Linked DNA regions of Homo sapiens: all the other regions are linked to region 1. The links are contacts of gene promoters, found by promoter capture Hi-C in blood cells and fetal thymus (Javierre and others, 2016). All regions are on one chromosome and are shown on one strand. Each heading gives the region's core, a stretch centred on a gene start or on the middle of the fragment in contact. The rest is flanking DNA. Distances are from core to core; before and after follow the strand shown.

Evidence for each region. Contacts are between HindIII fragments. The CHiCAGO score rates a contact against its expected background, and 5 or more counts as called.
Region 2: a contact is called between a fragment that was not itself captured here and the fragment with the promoter of TAFA4 in region 1, in 1 of 17 cell types (total CD8 T cells). The highest score is 5.2, in total CD8 T cells.
Region 3: a contact is called between a fragment that was not itself captured here and the fragment with the promoter of TAFA4 in region 1, in 3 of 17 cell types (naive B cells, total CD4 T cells and total B cells). The highest score is 6.4, in naive B cells.

What each region holds. Positions count from the first base shown.
Region 1 is chr3:68,930,835-68,934,209 of GRCh38, reverse strand. It overlaps TAFA4 (TAFA chemokine like family member 4), which reads left to right and starts at 1,663. Exons shown (of 6, transcript NM_182522.5): 1 at 1,663-1,970. The HindIII fragment of the contact is 2,333 bases long and covers 192-2,524 here.
Region 2 is chr3:66,858,620-66,861,994 of GRCh38, reverse strand. All of the region lies in intron 2 of LOC105377144 (a long non-coding RNA gene), which reads left to right. Among named protein-coding and RNA genes, the nearest start is that of KBTBD8, 140 kb to the left of the region's middle. The HindIII fragment of the contact is 5,395 bases long and covers 1-3,375 here.
Region 3 is chr3:66,883,475-66,886,849 of GRCh38, reverse strand. All of the region lies in intron 1 of LOC105377144 (a long non-coding RNA gene), which reads left to right. Among named protein-coding and RNA genes, the nearest start is that of KBTBD8, 110 kb to the left of the region's middle. The HindIII fragment of the contact is 3,901 bases long and covers 1-3,375 here.

The DNA of each region.
Region 1 (3,375 bases), core at 414-2,913:
CGCCTGACACAGAGTAGGCCCTCAGTTTTGCTGAGTGAGTGAATGAATGAATGAATGCTGTTGAGAAAGAGCTCTGGAATCTCCTGGCATGCTATTTCAGGTTTTGCTTGGATCTCCCCTTTGGCCGTCACAGAACTTCAATGCTAGTCTTTAAAGGAAATCTCAAAGATCAAGCGCCTATCTCCAAAGCTTGAATTCTCTCTTAAACTGGTGACATCTTGATAACAAATTGCCTTTGAATGTAGAACCCCCATTTTAATAATAAGAGAGTAAGAGATTGAAACTGTTTAACAAGTAAAATGTGCTATGGTATGTGTGGTACGGGGAACAGAAGCAGAAGGCCTGCCATACGTTAGTTCAAGGGGTAGAGTCAGAGAAGGGTGAACATACTTTGGAGTGCAGCAGGGGCAGGATGGCACATAATTGTATGTCAATGCAGAGTAAAAGGACCAGAAGATGATAAGCCAAGCCAATGACAGTGAGCAGCATAGTGGTACAGAGCAACGTTTTCTAACTTTATGCATGCACCAGCCACTTGGGCATCTTGTTAAAATGAAGATTCTACTTCTGGGGTGGGGCCTGAAAGTCTGCAGTTCTAAAGTGTTCTCAAGGGACCGCTCTACGACGCCATGCTTTGCATACTAAAGAGCATGGATTTACTAGTTACCTGTGTAATCTTCAGTAAACGATTTAACTTCTCTGTGCTTCAGTTATCTCATCTATAAAATAGAGATCAGATGAACTAATCCCAGTAAAATGAATACCATTAAGTGACACTGATTATCAGTTACTTCACTTGCGGAAGAGTGGAGGGCATGACTAGGAATGGGGTGGGAGGAGGGAGTCAAAGAAGTCTTAGCTGAATTTTTTTTTTTTTTTTTTTTTTTTTTGAGACGAAGTCTCGCTCTGTCGACCAGGCTGGAGTGCAGTGGTGCGATCTCGGCTCACTGCAAGCTCCGCCTCCCCGGTTCACGCCATTCTCCTGCCTCAGCCTCCCGAGTAGCTGGGACTACAAGCACCCGCCACCACGCCTGGCTAATTTTTGTATTTTTAGTAGAGACGGGGTTTCACCGTGTTAGTCAGGATGGTCTCGATCTCCCGACCTCATGATCCACCCGCCTCAGCCTCCCAAAGTGCTGGGATTACAGGCGTGAGCAACCGAGCCCGGCCCCAGCTGTATTTTATACATTAAAAAAGAAAAGTATTTAGGTATTCATACGTGGGCCGAGTTTTCTCCTCTCTCATACAAGCACATTACACGCGAAGCCAGATTAGTTCATGAATGTGCTACTGCACGGGGTGGCTAAGAAATCCTGCTTGCAAACCGCTTTGGGTCCTGCGTGGAGAATGGTTTCGAGTGAGAGCCGAACCCTAAATCCGTCTTCCTTATGTGGAGCTCAACGCGACTCTCAGGTATTCAGGAAGAATACCTTTTGCTCAGCACCTGCGGAGTGGTGGCCACAGCGAGGCGCTCGGGAGAGGCGCCTGGAGGCCGGCAGTGGGGGCGCGCCGCCTGAGCAGGGGTGCGGGGCGGGGAGAAGGCCGGCCCACGTGGACCGCGGGGCCAGGCAGGGACAGGAGCAGCCGGGCGGCCCGGCCAATCAGCGCGTTCCGCGGCGGGCCCGGCCCCTCCTGGTCAGCGCGCTAGCTGGGCTCGGCTCCGCACTGCTAGCTGCGCGCCGCCCTGGACGGGGCGCACCGACTGCGCGCGCGGCTGCGGGCAAACATCGGGAGTCCTGCCTCAGCTGCCGCTTCTCCAGCAGCAGCTTCAGGCTTCTCCCGCAGGAGCTTCGGGCTTCTCCTGGTAGAGACGTGGGAACTTTTCTTCTCCTGGCGAGGCTGCAGAGGTGATGGGCCGCTCCCGGGGCTCCCGCGGGGAGGCGGCACGGTGAGCGTCCTCGGGCTCCGGTGCGGCGATCAGTACCTAGTTCCGGACGCGCCGGTCCGACTTGGATGCCGGCTCTAGTCGAGTAAGAAGGGTTGGAAGGGATAAGGAGGGGCGAGAGGATGGGGTGGGGGTGGATTTGGACCCTGTATTTAGGTGCTGTCTCGTGGGCAGCCGCTGCCTCTCGGCTGGTACCGAGTTAACTCAGCTCGGTGCAGCTCCCCTCATCCCGGCTCTCTGGGGCGCCGGGGAGAGTGCCTGTGCTGAGGTCGGCGTGCAACCCGAAGTTGGAAGGGGCACTCCGAAGTAAGGATGTGTGGCTGGAGAGAGGCAGCGGCCGCTTCCAGTTTCGGGGTTCATGTCTGACAGAATCCCCGGGGGTGCTCTGCTGATGCGGAGGAGGCCACTCGATGAATTGGTATAGGGGGTGGTGAACTCACCGTGAGCTCTTTTCTGGACAAGTCGACCTTAGCGCTTCATCCCTTTAATCTGAGCTAGGATCTTTCTAGGAGCAAGCAGGTGGGAGCCGGTCAGCGTCCCCCCGCCCCCACCCCCACCCTGAAGCTCTGGTTGCTAGGATCTTGCTTGAAGGGCGCAGCGAGCGCTCGGGAGGCGTCTTCCAGCTGGGAGCGCAAAGCTTCCCGCCCAAGTGGAGAACTGGAGCGGGTCTGGAAGTTGCGTCTCTTTCCGCGGGAGGCATCTCAGATTTGCCCACCAAGGTGGCATCTCTACATTTCTTTCGCTCTTTTTCCCACTTTGCCCTGTTAATCCGCTCCTAGAAGAGAGGGCATCCTTGACCCTACGCAAGGAGCTCGGGAGAGGATTGGAACTGGAAAGCTTGATCTCCTGCACCTGGTGAGGCTGCCCAAGCCAGACACAGTGCCGCTGGTGCGTTTTCTTCTCGAATCAGCATCATTTAACGTTTAGGGGCTCCACGGAGCCTTAGTAAAGCTGTGAATCAGCTCCTAAGCAGTATGTACATGCACGGGTTCACGGACTCGCCGAGACCTAGCCTGGTGCCCATCCCCCGTCACCGAGATTCAGGGACCCCCCTTTGGTTTAACGTCTTTATCCCTGAACTCTTTTCCCTTTTAACTTTTCAATGGTCTTCCCTCTGAGACAAGCAAGGTTGATGTGATGTGACAGGCGATCCCCGTGTGTGGGGATGGGCGCCTTCGAAGCTTTGGTCTGTTTCTGTCTCTAATATCCTTGGCATAAAGCTTGTCCACCATAACTCGTAGCTGCCACCTGCAGACTCGGTCACCCAAACTTGTGCACACTGATGGCCTAGCTTCCTAATCACACGCATCTTCGTTTGGCCCCCTCTAGAACACTCGCTGAGGAGGGAAGAGGTGGGGGCAGTTTGTGTCAGAGCCCAGTTCAGGAAGGCCTTGGATTTTTTTAAAGGCTAAAATAATTTAGGAACAGCCATTTTGCAATATAATTAGTGTTACCACTCAGTCACTGAGAACAAATGTATGACTTGAAGA
Region 2 (3,375 bases), core at 587-3,086, 2.1 Mb after region 1:
CTGCCCGGTAGGCCTCACTACAAGTCACTCCCAGTGATTACCAGTACATCTGGCTTGGGTACTGTCCAGTTACCGTTCGCCACCCTTCATCTTTTCTCCTCTCCTCTCTATTACAGGGGTCTCTCTCTACCTATTACACTCTCTACGCTCCCTTGCTAACTGACCTCTGACTACATTAACCCATGACAGCCACTGATGGGAGACAAAACAGGAGAAGGCAAGAAGCCAGGGAGACGTCTTTCTGTCTCTCTCTCTGCTTCAAAAATCACCTCTCCATGGTCCCACCTCCAGCTAGGTGGCCCTGATTGCTGGATTCTGGTATCAAGCATCTCTTCACCTTGTCCCTCAGCCCGAAGGATGGTAGATACTTCCATTTTATTAATCCCTGAGTTGTCTCACCATCCCATTTGAGATCTTCCAGCATCTCTTTTTGCCAGCATTTATTTTATAAACTAATTTTTCCATGTTGAATATCCTCATTATATATGTTATATTAGAGAATATTTGATTCTGCAATAGGAAACAAGTAAAAAAGGATAGATAGAATTAGGTACAGAAACAAATATCTTACGATGTGTTAGGCATAGAACGACGTTGTCCAACCTGTGGCCTATGGCCCACATGCAGGCCAAGATGGCTTTGAGTGCGGCCCAACACAAATTTGTAAACTTTCTAAAAACATTGTGAGTGGTTTTTTTTGCGATTTAGCTATTATTAGTGTTAGTGTATTTTATGTGTGGCCCAAGACAATTCTTCCAGTGTGGCCCAGGGAAGCCAAAAGACCGGACACCCCTGTCATAGAAAATGTAAGCTGAGCACAAGTGTGCTTAACCTATATAAGAAGGCATAGAAGGACCAAGAAAACCTTAAATGTCTCTGAAGCACCAAATATTCACACTACACCAAATAAACGTGAGGCTCTGGAAGCTCTCAATATCTGTGATGCTGAAATTGGTGACACGCATTCTGGCCCCTCATCTCCTCTGCCCACAAAGCACTGGCTGATTGATGAGTCACATCTATAGCCCGGTGCACTTGACCGTGCACCTCTCCCACAGAGCGAGCATGTTGGCTCTGAGCTCCTTCCACCTGCCAGGCCCTTCACTCAAACTTTAACTCTGGTCCTTCTGGCCAGTGGGCAAGGCTGATGCAACACAGCTCCTAGCCTAGAGTAGGACATATAAACGTGGCATGTCCATGGTCAGGTGCAGTGGCTCACGCCTGTAGTCCCAGCACTTTGGGAGGCTGAGGCAGGCAGAATGCTCAAGCTCAGGAGTTCGATACCAGCCTAGACAACATGGCAAAACTCCATCTCTACCAAAAAAATTAGCTGGGTGTGGTGGCACCTGCCTGTAGTCCCGCTACTCAGGAGGCTGAAGTGGGAGGATCACTTGAACCCAGGAGGTCAAGGCTGCAGTGAACCATTATTGCTAATGACACAGGGAGATGCTAATGACACAGGGAGACACTGTTCCAGAAAAAAAAAAATTGCATATTCTAGGTGTCCTTCCAGCCTAATCTAAGTGTTAGTGTCCTCATCTCTCTCTTCTTACTCTTTGTTAAGCATTCTAGATTAATTCAAACCAGGTGCTTCCTGATTCTTAAGTAGGCCTATGAGCCTTTCTTTTCTATGGCTTCTAGGAGAACTCTCCTCTTAGTGTACTGGGAAGTTAACATCCATCAACGTAGTTTCCCACATGCCATTTTGAATCAGGCTTTGGTCCATGTAAAGACCCTGACATGTTTCTAGGGCCTGCATGTTGCCCCTCAGGAACCATCTCCCCACTCCAAATAAGAGACATTTTCCATCAGCTTTCTGAAGAGTGAAATCTCAGCATGTCAGAACTCAACTTGGATTTTATGTTCTCTAGTAAAGCACTGGGAACCTAATCTGGTAGGGCTTTTGACAAGTATGGTCAAAAAGTTCAACCTCTATGAGAAGCAAACAGGCCTGAAACTGAAGGCTGTTCACCAAAAGAACATACATACTACATCAGGCTGGCCAATAGTCTTTAAAACCTGTTGTGGGTCTTGGTTGGCAGAGATGAGACAGATATCCCAGGTGAATAACAAAGAAACTAGTTTAATGAGGTCAACGATGTACCTAAAATGTGCCCAGCTCTGTACTGGGCACTTTATATAAAGTATCTCACTTAATCCTTGAATAATCCGAAAAGTAGATAATATACCCTATTTCACAGAGGAGCATTAGAGGGTCTGAAAAGTTCATCCCACAGTCACTGAAGCAAGAAGTGGGCATTTAGCACTGGAAGCACAGACTATGGAACCAGTCTGTCTGCGTTCATTTCCCAGCTCTGCCACTTTCTAGTGGATAACCTTGGATGTTTTTATTTTGTTCTCTTGGTTTCTTCATTTGCAAAATGGCGCTAATTACAGCTTCTACTTCAGTTTCCTACTTCACTGAGTGAAGATTCGATTAATATTTTAAAAGAACATGTAACAGCTCCTGGCCTAAAATGTTGGTTAAATTTTTAAAAACCCAATTTTCTTGACCCCAAGTCCACTATTCAGCTTTAGCTCCCTCTAGAGCACTCTAGACTTGCTTGTCAGGGTATGGCCTGCAAATGTCTGTAGTGGGTTTCCTGGAAGCCTGGCTTGAGATAGGGTTTCATATGGAAGTACAAGGCAATGCCCTCTGGAGAAATCTTTCAGGAAGTGAGGGAAGCAAGATAGAGTAAGGTATGTGGTTTCAGATGAGGTTATCTCCAGCCTGCTCCCACTCTGCTGAGGAGCTCCGAAGCAGAAACTATACCCTGAGTTTGGCCCTCTTTGCGGCAAGGGGGCTGGGCTTTTGTGCCTCTGTATCTATGAGTCACTGGATACCAACTGCAGAGAATGAGGTGGTGGAGAGGGGCAAGACATTAACAATAGCCCAAGGTCAGTCCTTCAGAGACTTTAGCAGCAAAACAGATAACCACTGGGGAATGGGCACACTGAACCTGGTAAAAGGAATCCCAGTGGACCCATGTAAGGCACCAACAGCTAGACTCCTCCACTGCGGGAATCCGTGGCATTGGCATCACCTTTTGAAACAGAGAAAGTTTCCTTATCCCCCTTGCAGGGCAAGCGATGGGGGTGTGGCTCGCTTCGCTGGTGCCCCCCTGCTCCTACCTCTAGGGGGAGCATGCAGACGGTACGATTGTGGGGAGTGCTGATCCCGCAGCAGCGTCTAGGCTTGAGCGTTTACAGCTCTGGAGGCCCCAGTGAGTGTGTGTTACAGTGCGCGCTTTCAATTTTATCATCTGCCGGTGGCTTGTGTTAGTCAGCTCAATTAGACCCTCTGCCTTATTGCAAGGACAGAGGCCTTTCTGTATCCCACGTTCTTGCCTTAATGTACCAGAAAAATCCGATCAC
Region 3 (3,375 bases), core at 252-2,751, 2.0 Mb after region 1:
AAACAGGAGATTAGGTACTTTGAAAGAAGTTCAGGATGCAGTTACCAATGGAAGAGTGAGAGGATGCTGGATGGTGAAAATTACCTCTATCACTCTTGGCTTCCCTTTATAGTGGTAATACAGTACTCTTTGGCAAAACCTCTCAAAATCCAAGCATCTTTAATTCAAGCACATCTTTTAGAAGATGTGACATAAGGACAGGGCCATCTTTCTATGTTTCTTTAATGTTCTCCCCTCACCATCCTCTCTCCTCTCTTGTGCCACAACCAGGACTTAATAGGCACTTATTATTAGATTGATATGGACTGAACCACTCAACTAAAGTCATTTGCCTATTGAACCATTGCTCATGGAATGGGACTATTCCATGAGGTTTACAGTCTTATGGACTATTAGAGCCAGGAGAGCTACTTCATAGACAGTTGAAGTAAATACCATGGAAACTGCAGTGTCATGGGAGCACATCATTTAGTTTATTCATATCATCAATATCAATGCTAGGAGGACTCAAAAGCACATGTACCAAGGCCACATTACCCAAAGTTGAGTAAATTGTGCCATTAACCGCCTATGTAATTTTAGACAAGTTACTTAAACTCTGTATGTCTCAGATTCCTCATCTGTAAAAATGGAGTTAATAAGCATCTATTTTATATTTTGTTGAGGAGTAGACAACTTAATATATGAAGAATACTTAGAGTATCCAGTTGATGACAACTTAGTTGCTGTCATCATCACCATTATCAACATCATCATGGAAACTTTCAGACATTTTAGTTGACATTTGAGTCAGGATGGGTTGCTTTTTTTCCAGTTTCTGTGCCCTTTTTGGGATGTGGCATAAGATGGGTTGAATAAGATAATGTTTAATAAGCTAACTGCATTTGCAACTTGTGCTAAAGGTTTGCTTTTTCCTCTTAAGCTCTTCCTTAAAAATTGCCTTGACAATTTTTATTTTCTTTGTAAATACAAAACATATGAGCAGAATCAGCGAAACTCAAGAAGGGTCTGCATTTATTTCTTTCTAAGGGTTTGGATCTGCATTTACAATGGCTACACATTTAATCAGTGAATTCTCTTGTGATTATTCGCTGCCCATTAATCAGCTTGCCCCCCTAAAAGGTGACAAAATGGTGGTTCCTTTTAAGTTTCAAAGAGGCCAGTTTAATCTGGGCCTTCTGTTGCTTTGTTAGGGAAATCAAACTCCCAGAATTGTTCTTTGGCTTTCTCTAGTTGCTCAGAGGTCGTGGGAAAGTCGATGTGAGAGCCGCAGTGTGATTCATCATTGCCTGATGAAATAGTGTGACACCTAGAAACCATGTTCTAACCAGTGGCACTCACATTCTCTGTCTGTCTGTTAAATCATCTACTAGAAAGTAAATGCAGTGGTGACTCTGAGCAGGATAGGTAATATGTGGTCACTCCCGATGTTAAAGCTGTTTCCAACTAGAGTGATATAAGTGACAGAAGATAATTGGGCTTTTCAACCCCAGTTTGTGTCTGCCTCTATGAAGAATATTTTTAGAACCTTCCTTCTTTCCTTGAGTCTTTACTTTTTATGCATTTGCGATAAAGGTGATAAAATAACTGCATAAGTAAAACTTTGCAGTCCATGTCAAAGAACAGCCTACTCCAAAAGAAGGTGTTTAAAAATGGCCCTATGAGCAGCTGTCTACGTCTTGTAGATTTTTATGCTCAGGAGATGTTCTGCACAATGAATTTCATTATACAGTAAATGTTCTCATTTTGTAGAAATTAGAGAATTGTCTCTTGGAGACAAACTTCAGTCTCTTGATTAGTGGTCAGCTTGGTGACTTCTATTTCCTCTCCTTTTTCTGGCGGAGTGCCTTCCTTGAGTCTCAGAGAGGGAAGAAACTTTGATCTTAGAGGCAGAAATGTATCTGGAAAATCTGTCCAGTTATGACAACTACATGCTTACACGCCTTCAGTGTACAACCCCTTTCTGCTCAAAACTACATACCTTTCTTTTCTCTCCTTTCTTTCCATTCTCTCCTTCCCCTCCTTCCCTCTCCCCACTCTCCTCTTTCCTCTGTCCCCTCCCCTCCCCTCCTTTCCCTCCCTCCCTCCCTCCCTTCTGTCCCTCCCCTCACCTCCCTCCTTCTCTTCCCTTTCCTTCCTTCCTTCCTTCCTTCCTTCCTTCCTTCCTTTCTTCCTTCCTTCTTTTTCTCAGCATCTTGCTCTGTCACCCAGGCTGTAGTACAGTGGCATGATCACAGGTCACGACACCCTCAACCTCCCCACGCTCAGGTGATCCTCCCAACTCAGCCTCCCGAGTAGGTGAGACCCCAGGTGAGTGCCACCATGCCCAGCTAATTTTTTGTATTTTTTGTAGAGATGGGGTTTTGTCCTTTGCCTAGGCTGGCATCAAACTCTTGGGCCCAAGAGATCCACCCATTTCAGCCTCCCAAAGTACTGGGATTACAGGTGTGAGCCACCATGCCCGGACCTTCCTTCTTTTGTTTCCTCCTTGCTTCCTTCCGTCTCTCCTTCCTTCCTTTTTCCTTCCTTACACTTCTTAAGCATTTACTTTCAACCTATATGTCACCTCTGTACTAAACCCCTCAGAAAGAGAATAAGACAAGGTCCTGTCCCCTGCCTTCATTTTGCCCAGAGACAACTGGGGAAACAGACAAATAAACTAACATGAAAAGGTTAGAGCCTCACTATTCCAAGTGTGATCCCCTAGGAACTTGTTAGAAATACACAATCTCAGCCCCACTCCAGACCTACCACGTATTTGCAAGTTTCCCAGGTGATCTTGTTAGACGTATGTGCAAAGTGCTGTACTATGAAAGGCTAGGGTCCAGACAGCCAAGTGAGGGCACAGGCTGTGAAGCCATCTTAACTCTATGAGTTCCTTGTCTTCCCATGCACAATCTCATAGCAACCCTGCTGTCCAGTTAGCACTGTGTCCCCAGGACCATGCAGCTGCACTGTGCCAAGGGTGTGGGGGAAAAGTAGGCCAAACTCTGCAGACTGCAGGCCACAACTCCAGGGGGTGTGACTTATACCCCCTTATATGCAACACCATTAGGTATCCCTAAGACAAAGAGTAAGCCTTTTGCTCTTCTACTTACCCACAATACCTACAGAGGGAAGGGAAAAACTTAGGTCAAAGGTCAAAGCCCCGAATAGCAGATTAAGTGAGGTTGATCTGGTCATATATATTTCTCTAATAAGTTTTCTGTTTTCACCCTTGTACTTCTAATACTTCTTTGAAAATCTGGTGAAAGTTGTGTGTCTTTTTCCGAAACACTTACAGAGAGAAGATACATGAATTTACGCATCCTTTAGGACACTTATAGGACCCCTCAAATCCAATTCAGGACCCCCTTAGGTTCAGCTTTCTCCAGG